Regions from separate parts of the Homo sapiens genome. Here regions 2, 3 and 4 are each linked to region 1. The links are contacts of gene promoters, found by promoter capture Hi-C in blood cells and fetal thymus (Javierre and others, 2016). All regions are on one chromosome and are shown on one strand. The core of a region is centred on a gene start or on the middle of the fragment in contact, and the rest is flanking DNA. Distances in the headings are between cores, read along the strand shown. Region 1 holds the start of SLIT3 (slit guidance ligand 3). Region 2 overlaps SLIT3 (slit guidance ligand 3). Region 3 overlaps SLIT3 (slit guidance ligand 3). Region 4 overlaps SLIT3 (slit guidance ligand 3).

What was found. Contacts are between HindIII fragments. The CHiCAGO score rates a contact against its expected background, and 5 or more counts as called.
Region 2: a contact is called between a fragment that was not itself captured here and the fragment with the promoter of SLIT3 in region 1, in 1 of 17 cell types (megakaryocytes). The highest score is 6.8, in megakaryocytes.
Region 3: a contact is called between a fragment that was not itself captured here and the fragment with the promoter of SLIT3 in region 1, in 1 of 17 cell types (megakaryocytes). The highest score is 10.5, in megakaryocytes.
Region 4: a fragment that was not itself captured here is called in contact with the fragment with the promoter of SLIT3 in region 1 in 1 of 17 cell types (megakaryocytes); the score reaches 6.7 in megakaryocytes.

Annotation. Positions count from the first base shown.
Region 1 is chr5:169,299,361-169,303,092 of GRCh38, forward strand. SLIT3 (slit guidance ligand 3) reads right to left here and starts at 1,779. Exons shown (of 36, transcript NM_003062.4): 1 at 1,153-1,779. The coding sequence starts at 1,349. The HindIII fragment of the contact is 7,800 bases long and covers 1-3,425 here.
Region 2 is chr5:168,944,975-168,948,706 of GRCh38, forward strand. The region is part of intron 4 of SLIT3 (slit guidance ligand 3); the gene reads right to left. Among named protein-coding and RNA genes, the nearest start is that of SLIT3-AS1, 66 kb to the right of the region's middle. The HindIII fragment of the contact is 3,353 bases long and covers 251-3,603 here.
Region 3 is chr5:168,979,252-168,982,983 of GRCh38, forward strand. The region is part of intron 4 of SLIT3 (slit guidance ligand 3); the gene reads right to left. Among named protein-coding and RNA genes, the nearest start is that of SLIT3-AS1, 32 kb to the right of the region's middle. The HindIII fragment of the contact is 4,051 bases long and covers 1-3,732 here.
Region 4 is chr5:168,996,315-169,000,046 of GRCh38, forward strand. All of the region lies in intron 4 of SLIT3 (slit guidance ligand 3), which reads right to left. Among named protein-coding and RNA genes, the nearest start is that of SLIT3-AS1, 15 kb to the right of the region's middle. The HindIII fragment of the contact is 5,072 bases long and covers 1-3,732 here.

The DNA.
Region 1 (3,732 bases), core at 529-3,028:
ACACTCTAGGACAATGCTTGTCATCACTACTCTCTTCCAGCCTGAAGTCAAGAAAGCAGAGTGGAAGATCCAGGCGCCTACCCCTAAGGCACATGAGGAAGGGGAGAAGAGGGAGAGCAAGACACGGAGGGAATCTACCACACTAGAGCAAACCCTCACCCACTTCTCGGCTGGGTTCCCAGTAAGGCTTCCCACCCACTCCAGCGTTTCTCCCCCACTCCCTTACCCCACCCCAACTGCGGACTAAGAGGAGCCCACCCCGGAGTCCAAGTTTTGAATCTGGTCCGAGGATCAAAATGATAAATGTTTCCAAAACGTTGACATATGAAAAGTAAATATTTGGTTGCACAATTGGGGCTAAAACTAGGGTCAATCCACCCCATTCTCCAAGCGCCTCTCCATTCGCTGCCAAGCCCAGGATCTGAGGCTGAGTGCGGTTTGTAAGATTATAACGCTCGGTCTCATTTGAAGGGCTGTCAGCATTTCCATTCTCCGGCCCCTTCGTTCGGGGAGGCATTTATAACCGAGCCATAAAAAATTCACCCGGGGCTGCAACTTGGCATCTCCCAGACTGCGCTCCAGGCAGAGCGGGTTTTGCGAGCACCCACTCTGAATCTGTCCAGTTCCTCAGAAGTTAAACCTTCACCCACACTCTCAACTTTCCTTGCAAGGGCAGCCAGAGAGCGGCTGGCCCATTCTGATCTCCAAGCAGGTCAACAGTCTCGGGCCCTCTCTCCCGCCTCCGCGCCTTGACGGCCCATCATCCTATAGCTTTCTCCTTCGCCCGCCCCCCTTTTTAACGAGCGCAGACCCCTGACCCTCACCCTAAGACCTTGAGGCTGCAGTGCTCTTGCCTCCCCTCGCCTCTCCTCAGCTACTCCTTGGAAGCTGTCAGCGGGCCCTGCGTCTGGAACCCTCACCCCTGGAGAGGCACTGCTCTTTGCCCATCGCTGGGGGTTTCGAGACCTCTCTTTCCAGATCTGACCAAGCCTACAGACCCCCAGCTCGGAGAGTGAGGGATCGTATCCAGGAAGGGATGAGAATAGAGACTGCATCCAGGGAGGCCGAGGGGAAAGGACGGATCTGGCGCCTGGGGCCCCCTCGGTGGGACCCAGGTGGGTGGCCCGCGTGGGGTGGGGCAGGGGTACTCACAGGCGCTCAGCGTTGCGGGGGATGCCCCGAGGAACCGCGCGGAGGCCCAGCCCGTGGCAGTCCACGCTGGCAGCGGAGCAGGTACACTTGGTGGGGCAGGCGACGGCTGGAGGCCCACTCAGGACGCTCGCCAGCGCCAAGGCCAGCGCCAGGCGGGCGCGCACGGCGGCGCCGACCCCTGCCCACCCGGGGGCCATGGTGTGCAGGGCCCCGCTCCTGGAGGAGGCTGCCTCTGCGGGGCAAGACGCGTGGAGCCCGAGGAGGCGCGCGGGGAGCGCGGGCGGCCTGGGGAGCGGGCGGCGGAGTTAGCGCGGAGGAGGGGCGAGCTCGGTGCTCAGGCGCACGGGGCGCGGGCGGAGCGGGGCGCTCCGGGCGGCGGCGGCGGCAGCAACAGCAGCTCCATCGGCGGGGCCGGCGCTGCCCCGCTGCGCATCGCTGGGAGTGCCCAGGTGCGGAGCGCCCCCTGGCCCCGCTGGCCCGCGGGCCGGGTTGGGGACCTGGGGCGAGCGCAATGGGGCGTGGCGCCCGGGGAGGTCCGGCTTGGGGCTGGGCTGGGGAGCGCGGCGGCTGCGGCTGGGGCACGGGGCGGCCGGGTGAGCTGGCCGGCGCTCGCTCTCTCCATTCAGTGAGCACGGCAGACACCGGAGACGCGGGGCCCACCCCTCCGGCCCCCCCCCGACCAAGAAACGCCAACTCCGCCTCCCATTGGCTGCGCCGCGCGTCATGTCGACTAAGTTGGGAACTTTGCTGGAGCGACCGAGAGCCTGGAGGGAGGAGGCAGTAGAGGAGGGAGAGAGAAGGAACCAGGGAAGGAAAGGGGCTCGGCCAGCAGGGCCCCTGGAAAGAAACACTGAAACTCATTCACTGTTAAGATCCAAGGACGGATAAGGCTCCTGACACTTTTTTTTTTTTAATTTTTGCACTGAGCTGAGCACTCTACTCATATTCTTTACTTAAGTCCACGATCTTCCAAGGGGTCGTCTGAAAACAGCTCAGAGAAGTGAAGCGACTTGCTGGAGGTCGCACAGCTGCTAGGGACGCCAAACCATGGCAGTGTCGCCCACGAAGCCGCTTCCCTACCGCACCTAGTACTCATGGCAGAGATCCACAATTTTGCCTGAAGAGCCTTGGTTGACACCAATGTACTCCACAGCTACACACACACACACACCGTGGTCCATGTTGTTGAGGTCACTGCTGGCAAACCTTACCCGGAAACTTGCCCTGCTTTGCCCAGACCCAGCGCTTGGTGGACTGGTAAAAGTAGTGATGGCAGCGACTTGGACCCCTGGATTGACAATGCCTTGTTCCATCCTCGGGTTTCTGCTTCCTGACTGGGTGACTCTGGGCCAATCGTGTCATCTCTGAGCCTTCGTTTTCTCAAATCCGGGGCCACAGTCCTACCTGGCCTCACCTCCCTGGGTTGTTTGGAGCATCACAGAAGAGAACGTGTTTTTGCAAAAGTCATTCGCAGACGAGGCATCCCTTCTGTCCCCAGCGCCTTCTTTCTTCCAGCGCCCGCTTTAAATTGGCTAGGTCTGAGCTTTTCCAGATGCCAGTGGGGAGGGGCGTGTGCGTTAGAGGCTCCATAAATACTTGTAGGAATGATTTTGTTTGTTTGTTTGAAAGGAAAGGGCAGGAACTGGAGGAAGTATTGCCCAGATTTCCTTGAGGTCCCCTCACACTGAGAAGGCCTGAATGAGCCCTGCATATATATACACACACACTGGTGCCTACGTATTCACAGCCACGCACACACTCTCACATACTCAGGCTCACACACACCCATTTATACACCGGCAATCACACACACGTGTACATGCATGCTCGCACACACACTCACATAGTGACAACTATACTCCTGAGAGCGCTTCTCTTTTCTTTCATAAGAATACTATTCTGATTTCTTCTACCTCATTTTCCTTCAAGGAAACTTTCAACTACTTGACCACATCCTGTGAATATATAGTAGAGTTGTAGATTTTATTGTATTATACTTAGCAGATTTTCAAAGTCTTAGCTTTGGGCACCCACTTGCGCGCGCGTACACACAAACACACACATACGCACACTCACTCAAACACACACACTCGAGTCCCTTCATCATTCATAAACACATTAGGTGCAATTTACTGCTGTTATTCTTGGGAACGGCTTTCTGTACAGATGCTGTTGTTATCGCCCCCTGGTGGCTGGCGAGGGTCTATGCTCCGGTCTTCAGGGTGACTTCGGTATTTAAGAACTCTAAACATCCTTTTATCCCTTTGCTCTGAAGCTTTCCTCCAAACCTTGAACCAATTTAGTACCAGGACTGAGGCAGATGAGAGAACCGGGCAAGGGCCCAAGGGCACAAAGCGTCTCAGACTGTCTGGAGCAGAAAACAGTACGGTTTTCTTTGTTTTCCCAAATGCATGCTAGAGCATGTTTTGCAATCCCTTCGGGCTGGTCCTGGATCTGTGCTCTGAGCGCAGTGGGGGACTGCGTTTTCCATTTAAGCTGCTCAGGGGGGTTTCATGAGCCAGACTGTATCTTTAAGGGACTTTATAGGCATTCAAGTGTGACTTTTCCTGGGAGAAGCCC
Region 2 (3,732 bases), core at 677-3,176, 350 kb before region 1:
GGACCCCAACTGGGACTGACCTGTGACACCCGAGGAAAGGAAGAGGAAGGAGGGAAGGAGAGGCCCCAGGGTGGTACCTGTTCAGCTCAGAAGATTGGCAACACTGACACTCAACTTCTGGAAAGGGAATGGGACCCTGCTAGCTCATGCCCCACAAAGTCACATCACACTGATAACATATCAGGGAGTTGCTTTAATGACTGACCATGCAAAACTGCATTCCAGAAAAGAAAACCAAAGGAAGATCAAAAGCTTCGTGATTGGTATCCACATTTTTTTTTTTTTGAGACAAAGTCTCACTCTGTTACCCAAGCTGATGTGCAGTGGCGCAATGCTCACTGCAACCTCCACCTCCCAGGTTCAAGTGATTCTCCTGCCTCAGCTTCCCAAGTAGCTGGGACTACAGGCATGTGCCACCATGCCTGGCTAATTTTTGTATTTTTAGTAGAGACAGGGTTTCACCATGTTGGCCAGGCTTGTCTTGAACTCCTGACCTTATGATCTGCCTACCTCAGCCTCCCAAAGTGCCGGGATTACAGGCATGAGCCACCACGCCCGGCCCAGTATCCGGTCTTAGGCAAGAGAGATGATCACACATTCTGGCCTGGCCTCTCCACAGAGGTTCTGTGTCTCCGCCTGGAACCCTCTCCACATGCTATACTTTTAATATGTTCTAGGTCTGCTTTCAGTTATTCCAAATATATCAACACTGAGAGAGAGAAAACAATCCCGACTGCTTTAGGGCTAAACTCGGGTGTTTCCTCCTCCCAACACGTGCAACAAAACGCATGCATATGTGGCTCTGTGAAGAGGCAGCCAGCGTCTTAGGGAAACCCAAAACCATGTACAAAGAAAGAGGGCAGTGGTTCCACTAGGCCTGGGCCAAATATCTCTTGATTTGTTCTAATCTTTGGGCTTGTGCTTAATGTCATGATTGGATTAGAAACAAGATTTTCCTCCCAGGCTATGAACTTGGAAAGTTTCTCGCGTACTGTTTCTAAATTCCTTGTTACAATAATAGCCGCACTCTATGTACTAAGTTTTATGTGCTGTATTCTTATTTAATTCTTACGACAATGCTAGGGGGGAGTCACATCAAATGTAGGTGGTAGCAGTGAGGCTCTGAGATGAAACAATTTCCCTGAGTTTACCTGGCTGGTTTTCAATGAGGCTGGGATTGGGACTTGTGTCTGTGCTTGCAATCACTATACACGTTGACCCTTTAGCTCTTTCTTATGGCTGCTGATTTGAGAACCTATCCAAGGGCCTGAGAGACCAAGGGAGGGGACTCAGTTGACCCCAGTCCTCTCAGCCTCCCCAGCCTCTTTGTAATAGAGAATCAGTCCTGCTGCAGGACCTACAGGACCAGAGAGCCTTAGTATCACCCACAGATGCTACCATGGGGCAGCAGCATTGGGCTGGAGACATTGGGCCCCAACCTCCCAAATGCCTGCAGATAGCCTGGGCCCTGCCTTTTCCTACTGTGCCTCCCCAAGCCCCAAGGGGCAGCGGCTGTTAGGGAGGGATTCTCATGGTCCCATAGTGTTCCCCAGCCTTGTTCACGCAGCACAACAGTGACATCCAGGGGAGAGGCTTGGTGATGGCAGGGACCACCTGGCTCCAGCATCTTCTGCAGGTTTCTGGGCTGATTTGCAAGCACAGGCCCTGAATCATCAGAGGACAGGCATCTGGGGGCTTGTGGGTCCACAATCCCCTCTGCGGCCTGCCTGGGGTCTTTCGACACCGGACACACGCTCACCCCCTAGCCCAGCCTTCATCCCTCATTCTCACCCCTTCCCTACTCTTTGCTCAGTTACTCCAGGGTTTAGAAAGGGTGTCTTCAACTTGACCTACTGGAACACACAGCTGCTCCCCTCCCCTTCGAACACCTCTCCATTTGCAAAGCCTTTTATCAGCTCCATCTGATGATAGAGAACAGGTTTCTGGAACTAAAAATTAGCTCAGTCTTTTTTTCAAAGAGAAAAGATTTCACAATTAAATGGTGAATGTATGGGGGTGTATTGTTATTATTACTATTATGTCTCACACTAGCATTTTCTAGTTTCTATATATTGTGGTGTCCCCTTTGTTTTGATCTGCATGAGAAAGTCAGTATTGTCTATGGAAGTAAGAAACATACACTGCACAAAAGGAATTAGATCCTACACACACACACATAAATATGCAAGTATTTAAACATTTAAACAGAAACCAAGGGCAATATAAACTAAAAGGCTGAAAGAGAAATGCAACGAGAGAAAAAACAGATGCTTGCCTCTGCTGGGGACTTTTCTGGGGGAACATTTGGGCTGATGCTGCCCATCACCTTTCCCTGGCCTGTGGGTGTCATCTCTGCAGACTGCACTCTGGGATGTTCCCTGGGTCCCTCGGGAGCTGCAGGGAGAGCCACCGTCTGCCGCCCTGGTGCCTGGACTCCACTCCCCCAGGCCCCTGCTCACTGCTCTCTTTGGCCAGGAGGTGGCAGTGCAGAGATGTTGCATGGGACTGTGGCCCAAAAAGGAGGCATAGGAAGAAAAAAAACAGGCTGGGGTGGTGGGCCTTGAGGATTTCTGCCCCACAGCTGTGCCCAGGTCAGGGGCAGGGCCACCTGGGTCCTGGCTGACAGAGGCACCAGGGCTGCCAGTGTGAAAAGTGGGGGCCTGGTTCTTCATACACTGAGCTGGCTTGGTGGAATCCTCCTGGAAGAATGTGCCCCACATGCAGGGCCTGAGGCTGGATGCAGACCCAAGGGCTGGGGCTGGGCAATAATGGGGAAGGAGAGCCTGAAAGGTAGTTTTTTTGTTGTTGTTGTTTTGTTTTTTTCTTTTTTGAGATGGAGTCTTGCTATGTCACTCAGGCTGGAGTGCAGTGGTACAATCTCGATCTTGGCTCACTGCAACCTCTGTCTCCTGGGTTCAAAACTCTCCTGCCTCAGCCTCCTGAGAAGCTGGGATGACAGGCATGCACCACCACACCCGGCTAATTTTTGTATTTTTAGTAGAGATGGGGGTCTCGCCATGTTGGCCAGGCTGGTCTCAAACTCCTGACCTCAAGTGATCCGCCCACCTCAGCCTCCCAAAGTGCTGGGATTACAGGCCTGAGCCACCATGCCTGGCCAAGTTGTTTTTATTATTATCCTGAAAACTGCCACCCACAGGAAGGGCAGTGAATGACTGTGTGCCACACTTTCCCTTCTCTGCCGGACCTGACGCGCCACCCCAGCAACACCCCTGCCTTGTCCGGGGCCTGATGCACTGCCTGGCACACAGTGGGTGCTTGCCCACTATTAATAGTCATGGCAACAGAAGGGCAACAGAAGCCCCCACAGCAAACGGGGGCTGTGGATTTTTGGGTTCAGAGGAGACTCAGCGAAGGAAGAGGCTCCGTTGGAACAGGCAGGGTTTAGGTGTCATGTGATTTAGGTGCATACAGAGAACAGAGCCGGAGCCTGAGGGGGCTGCAGATGGATGTGAGGCTGCAGGTAGAAACTCCCTCTCAGCACCTGAGAGAAATGATTGTGAGGTCGGGAGACACTTTGCAAGTCCTTCTGAGGCAGGTGTAAGTTGTGGAATTTTCCCTTTCTGGAGATTTTTAAGAAAAGGAAGCTTTGGTGGATTGATTTCACTGCAAGATGCAGGGCTGAGAATTTCAATTGTATTTTTTTCCCCCATTAGCAGTTGTTTGTCTCAGCAGCTCTTGCTCTAGGAACAAAGTCTAATGTGACCCCAATAT
Region 3 (3,732 bases), core at 746-3,245, 320 kb before region 1:
AGGCTAAATATCACAGGCCTGTGTTGGGGCCCGAAGAGGACAAGATGTGCACTTGGAGGCCAGACAGGCTTGCAACACCATCCAAGCAATGAGAAAACAAGACATAGTGGAAAAGAGGATCTGTTTCTCAGTATCTGTCTTGGCTGGGGTACCACTGTGAACATGGCATGCAACAATCAGAGAGGCAGAGGATACCAAACCCAAAGGAACTCTTCCCCTGTTTACCAGGAGGAACTCCTTTTTTTCTGTACTTCACTATTTTCTCGTCTGTTTAGTCTAAAAGGCTGAACTATTACACAAAGAAAGTTCTCTCCAAGAATGAGTTTTCCAGAGAAAGCTCTTCAGACAAGGGCAGTGTTTGAACCACTCTCCACAGCCTGGAGAATGGGGTGTGTGTTTAACAGAAGGGGGCTGGGGCCAAACAGGACTCCCTGAAGGATTCCCAAGGTGCTCTGTTTGTGTGATTTATCCCTTCTGGAAAATCCAAACATACAAATGTGCCTGCTGCAAAAGTCAGGGCAGTCTCCAGGACTCAGGTTCCCACACAAAGCTAACCACATATAGCTTGCCTGCCCTGAAGGTTTTCTCTATTTTAACCTTCGTAGGTTTTCAACCAAAACAGATGAAAGGGAGGTGCATGTAGTTTTGCTGGGGATCAGCAGACCTCATTTCTCTCTCTCTTCTTAGCTCCTAGGCTCACTTCACAAAAAACCCTCGGAGAACAGGAACTGGGCAAAAAGGGGCTTCCCTCAGCTCCTGGGATTTCAGAACCAGACATTGTCATCCTGTTCACCAAGCAGCAAAAACACACAACTCCGAGGCCCCACACTTTAGAGCAGGGGACACAGCCCTCAAAAGACTCCAATCCCAAACCCTTTTTATCTAGTAACCATTTGTTTGTGGAAATTTTGTTCACATTATAAGAGAGCTAGACCAGTTCTACATGCCTTTGAAATTCCAGCCCCCACGCCCTCTCCTCCCTGGCTAAAATGTTCTATGGAGTGGTGCCCGGGTTCTGAGATGCGTGTAAAAGTTGATGGAGAAGGCAGACTGAATTAAAAATGCATCCTTGCTTGTACACCATTCCAAAATGACCAAGGGGAAGGCTGCTTCCCACAGAAGGCTCAAAATGCATGATTTTATCTGAGTCCCAAAACCGTCCTACGAAGTAAATGCTTTTACTTTCATCCTTTTGCTATACAAGGAAATTGAGGCTCAGAGAATATCAGTTTTTGGCAAAGGTCACCCAGCTTGGTAAGTGGCAGAGCAAAGATTAGGATCAAGGCCTGTCTTTCTCCACACTTCAAGCTCTTTCCACCTCCCACATGATATTTCAACTTGGGCAATATGGCAAGGCTTCAGGAAGGCCCCAGAATATTGCATGCCCTTTGATCCAGGGCTACAAGGCTAAGAACTTAACCCAAGAAATACTTATGAAGGCAGACAAAGATAGATTTACAACGGTATCAGCAGTAACACTATTGATAACAGCAGAAGTTTGGGAGAAAAGTAATTATATGGTACTGATTGAATTTAGCATTATATCCATACAATAGAATACCATGCAAGTATTCAGTCATTAAAGACACTAGGGTAGAAGAATATTTAGTGATGTGGGAAAATGTTTACGATGTAAAGTGAAAAAAATTTGAATATGTAACCAAATGTCCATCAAAAGCAATGGTTACCATCATTTTGGTAAATCTATACAATGAAATACCATGAAGCTATGGAAAAGAATGATTTAGTTCTATACAAGTACTGACTTAGATGAATTTCTTCTTTTTGCTAATTTATATTTTTCCCAAAAAGATATTTTTTTAAATAAGAATAAAAGCATTGAAAATATTCAACATTCACATGCAAGGCGCTATTTAGAAACTATCTCAATGTATGATTTTGTCATTATGTGCGCAATGCTGATATTAGACACAAGCAAAGTTGCTACAATTTGTGTAGCATGTAATTTGGACCACGTGTCAGTTTATTCATTAATATGCATTTGGCTCACTGTGGGGTGCATGCCAATAGGGACTGACTACGCAACAGTTCAGATTTTGGTAAATGGGGGTAGGGGAGAAAGAGGGTGGGGATTGGATCTGAATAGACAGGTGAAGATGACAGATTCCCGGGATTGCAATGAGGCTTGGGGGCCTCAAGGACTGAGGCAGGAGGATCACTCCCTCTTCCTAAGCAGTAGCACCAATGCATGTGGTGGAGGTTCCATGCGCAGAGCCTCCCTTATGCCCATCAAAATAAAACAAATCCTCACCAGAGGAGCCAAGAGTAGACCTAATCAGCAGACACTGATCCTGCCAACACTCCCTGACTTCCATTATTGTAGATAGAGCTGAATGGGTTATCCAGGACTCCAAGCACTGCTGCCCCCATCCCTCCTGCCCTTTACTATAATAACCATAAGTCTTAATTTCTTCTTTGATCAATAACTCCATGTCTGAATTCTAAAATACAGCATCTGCTCTCATATTCCTCTGATAAATGGTTTGAATTAATGTAAAGCACATTATTCTTAGAGTCTTGGCTTATTGTATCAAAGACATCTGGTTTCCCAAGAAACTTCTAGGAGCCTGGATGTTTAAGGGCACTGAAGGCTAAGAATGGAGTCCCATTAACTCTTAGGTGATCATTGCCAGTCCATGAACTGTTGATTACAGGTCCCTGAAGACATAAACACTGAAGTTGAGAGTATCTAAAAATGATGATAGCAATGTGACGTTGCTGCATTTGTGTACATGATATTAACCACCTATATATGATATTAACCACCACACTTTCCATGACCCACATGCACAGATTTGTAATTCTTTCCTTTCTTCTAATTATGTGCATTCTGATATTTTTTGAAATGTAATTTTATGCCTGTGTAATCTAATAATTAAATATTTGTGCTTCTATTCTGTATATCTGCTATGGTTTTTGTCCTGTCCACAACTCATGTTGAAATTCCCAGTGTGGCAGTATGGAGAGATGGGGCCTTTGAGAGATGATTCATGGATTAATACATTAACAGGTTATCATAGGAGTGGGACTGGTGGCTTTATAAGAAGAGGAAGAGAGACTTGAGCTAGCACACTCAGCTCTCTCTCCATGTGATACCCTGTGCCACCTAAGGACCCTTCAGAGAGTCTTGAACAACAAGAAGGTTCTCACCAGATGCACCCCCTTGACCTTGGACTTCCCAGCCTCCAGAACTGAAGGAAATACATTTAATGTCTTACAAATTAACCAACTCCAGGTATTTTGTTATAAGCAATAGAAAACAGACTAAAACAATATCTTTATTTCATTTTTCTAGTAAGTTATTTTTATAGTATTTTACAAATGTATTAGTCTATAGGTTGCAGTCTTTTAAGAAAAAAATCCATCTCCACACATAATTGGAGAAGCACTAAGTAGGTTTGGGCCTGTGACTCATGGGCTTAGTCCTCACAAAGTTTTTATTAATTAAGACAATCAAGAGTGGACTAGAGCTGACATTTGGGGTACAGCCTTGTCTCTGAACTAAAACTCTAGCTGAGTGGTGCTTCGAAGGATCATCAGGGCCTTGTAAGAATCTCTTTGGACTAAACTGATGGAGGGTTAATGGATTGAGATATTTCTGGAGTGTAATCTTGTTATTTTATGCCGAGGGACTCCTGTTGTACTGGCTCTGAGACCTTATTTCAAACACAATCATTATCCCCATGGTCCCTTGTTGCCTTGTAATTTCAC
Region 4 (3,732 bases), core at 844-3,343, 300 kb before region 1:
ATCTGAGCTCCAACTATCCTTTCCCATTTCACACCAGGGTGACATTAAATGGTTCCATTTTCAGTGGATGGGGGAAGGGAAGAGGGGAAAATGGAGCTAAAGTTTCATTTTTAATGAACATCAATAAAATATTCTTCCCTAGGTACACTGTCCCCCTGCCCCAAACCTATGCAAAAGAAATAGTCTACTTCTTCCAGTGACTTTGGGCTTGTTTGCATATATCTGGGGCTTTGGATATAACGTCAAGCGCTTCGTGATGCCACAGTAAATTCAGAAACACGTAAGAAGCTATTGATTTCGATCCCCAACAACTCTTGGCTTGTAGACATTTCACTGATGAATGTTACAGCAGCGGATTTTTTAGTGGCCCTTCATACATGGTCATGTCCCTCTGGGCTGGCCAGTGACTTGGCATCAGGTCATCCATCCAATCCCCATGTGAGGTGATAGGAAGTGGTGCTCCTGACGGTGAGGGGCCCCAGCTACCAATATTTTTACGGCTTCCGCTGGGATGCAAAAGCAAGTGAGTCTCAGGCCTGTCTCAGGAGGTGGGTGGCCTGAGCCGGGTGGAGTGGAGGAGTGATGTGTGGGAGAATGTGGCTCATGGTCTATTTACATTCAGGATCCTTTCAGCTTCTGCAGGACCATCTTGACTGCTGCAGGTCTCTGTGAGTGGGTCATCCTCACAGCTGTCAGGCCGGGTTAGTGCACTCTCAAGAAATCATGATGAAAGGGAGGGATCAACCGCCTCATTGATCAATAATCCTGTCTCCTGTGGCCCTCAGTTTTATGCCTGGTGCACTAGGGGACTGTGACGCATCGCGTGCCCCTTCTCTAAGAGCGACACCTGTACCTTCCCAGACACAGGGTCTGGAAGCTGGTCTCCTGAGAGGTCACACTGGGACCTGGGAAAAGCTGGGCTCAGAGGCTCCCTGGGGATTTGGAGGGTTGGGAAGGGGCAAACACTTCGACTGAGAATTTGTGTCAAATTTGAGCTCTGTTGTTTTTCCTACCCCATCCCCCCACTTTAGAGGGAGAGACTGCAATTACTTTTCTGTACCCCCTGGAAAGAGGATTTGGGGTTCTGGGTTTGTGGAATCAAGTCCTATTGTGAAAGAATAGAATTAACTGAAAGAGGGAGGGTCTTCTCCAAAACTAGAAAGGGATGGGGGTAGAGGGAGGTATGCGTGGGGCCCAAGGATTTGGGAGAGGCAAAAGACCCCACAGAGTCATGGCCGCGTGGCTTTCTAGAAGCCTTGCCCCAAATTCCCTTTCTCATCCAAGCCCAGAAATGCAGAGCTGCTGCATGCAGGAGACCTCAGTGGGCCTGGGTGATCTGGGACTGCTGATGACCATCCTTTGTTTCCGGTCACCATGCAAACTCCTAACTCTGCTGGGAGGGGTCCTGGAAGGGAAACAGGAGAGAAGACCTAGGTAGCAACTGGCACGGCATTTCCAACCAGCCTATGACATGGGGATTCAAGTGTCAACATCAGGTTCAAAGGAGTGGTATTTCTGGCACACCTGAGTTTGTCCTTGGCACTTCACATCCACCGCAACCCTTGCATGGCTTTATCTGTAGTGTCTATAAAGAGATCAGGGCTCCATTCTTCATGTGATAACCTTTCCCAGAATTTGAGGCCAAGCTCTCTCTCTCTACCCGCCCCATGCCCTCTCTCTCCCTCCATCTCTCCCCTTCCCTCCCTCTCTCTCCTCTGTTCATATTCAAAGCCAGGTGGAAGCTCTCAATAATAAACTGTGGGAGTCACTTGGGACACAGGGATGGCTGCTGATCTCACAGAGTTACAAGAAAGAAAGTCATCCAGATTGGCTCTAGAATAAAATGCCACCAGAAAATGTATTTGAAGAATGAAATACTTTGTCATGGCTTAAAACACATGAAACACATCCGTTTCATCCCTTCCTTGTTTCTTTTCAGCTATAGAAAGGACAACCAGCACCACCTCCAAAATGCCTCCAAAGGGTCTGCCTTGTATGCAAGGTTGTAGGTATTTTAGTTAAACATCCAATTAAGGTTACTCTTCTAGTTATAATGTTTTGATGCCACCCCATGTACTAGTAAACTTTGAAGGTTAGAACTAAGAAATGGGCCAGGCGCGGTGGCTCAGGCCTATAATCCCAGCATTTTGGGAGGCTGAGGCGGGCAGATCAGAAGGTCAGGAGTTCGAGACCAGCCTGGCCAATATGGTGAAACCCCGTCTCTACTAAAAATACAAAAATTAGCTGGGAGTGGTGGCGCATACCTGTAATCCCAGCTACTCAGGAGGCCGAGGCAGGAGAATCGCTTGAACCCGAGAGGCAGAGGTTGCAGTGAGCCGAGATCGCACCATTGCACTCCAGCCTGGGCGACAGAGCAAGACTCCATTTCAAAACAAAACAAAACAAAACAAAACAAAACAAAACAAAAGGCCATTGAACAGGGTGAAAAGATGTGTCCTCAAAGTGTGGTCCCCAGACCAGCAGCATCACTGTCACCTAGGAATGTGTTAGAAATATGAATTCTTGGGCCCTACCCCAGTCCCACTGAATCAGAAATTCTGGGAGGGGACCCAGAAATCTGTGTGTGTGTGTGTGTGTGTGTGTGTGTGTGTGTTTTGAGACAGGATCTCGCTCTTTTGCCCAGGCTGGAGTGCAGTGGAGTGATCATGGTTCACTGCAGCCTCAACCTCCCAGACTCAAGTGATTATCCCACCTCAGCCTCCCAAGTAGCTGGGATTACAGGTGTGCACCAGCATGCCCAGCTATTTTTAAATTTGTTTTTTTAGAGACAGAGTCTCACTACATTGCCCAGGCTGGTGTCGAATTCCTGGGCTCAAGGTATCTTCCTGCCTCTACCACCCAAAGCGCTGGGATTACAGGTGAGTCACCCTTTAGGAGGTAATGAATGAACTTCCAAGTATGAGAGCCTCTGGTAATGGGTTCAAGACCTCTGGCTCTGGAGTGGGATACAGTCAGGTTTCAATCCCAGATCTGCAGGCATGGATCTGCAGCAGTTCATCTTGTGCTGCTGGCTTTACCTCTCTTAATTTGGTTTTCTGATTGGATAAACAGTAATAATTACCCCCATCCCATAAGGTTGTTGGATCAAATAAAACAGCACAGCTACATAGAGCCTTGTGTGGGTATTTTGGGGTGCTGAGTGATAACTAATCATATCCCCATCCCCTTCCAATTCCAGACCCATGTGAAGCAGGCAGATGGAGACCAGAACATGGGCTCCATTGCTGATGAACTCCTCTGAAGGACTCAGGGATCTGGTCCCCACTCACATTGGCTTCCTAGTGCTGCCTCCCACAAACTTTGGACAGTGTCCCTATAGGGTGAGAGGGTGAAGGTCTGCAGAGGAGGCACACAGCCCAAGTCCCTGCCTCACACTGTCAAAGCCGAGGAATGTGGACAGAGGATATGCAGCCACGGGACTCACAAAGGCAGCCCTGGCTTCACCATGGAGGGCCGGCCCTGGGGCTGCAGGTACAGAGTGGACGCCCACCTGGGAGCTTTTGCACGGGAAGACCCATGCAAAAGTGGACCTGCTGGACTGCTCAGTCATTCCTCTTGAGCTCGATGGCCTTGTGGCTCATGGCTTGGAGTAGGGAGATGACCCAAAGACCCTTCATGATTTTTTCCACTTGGGGTCTGGGTATCCCCATCCTTCTTAGGAAATAGCAGAAGTAAAGTAATGCCTATCACTTGCTAAAATCAGTGCTCAAC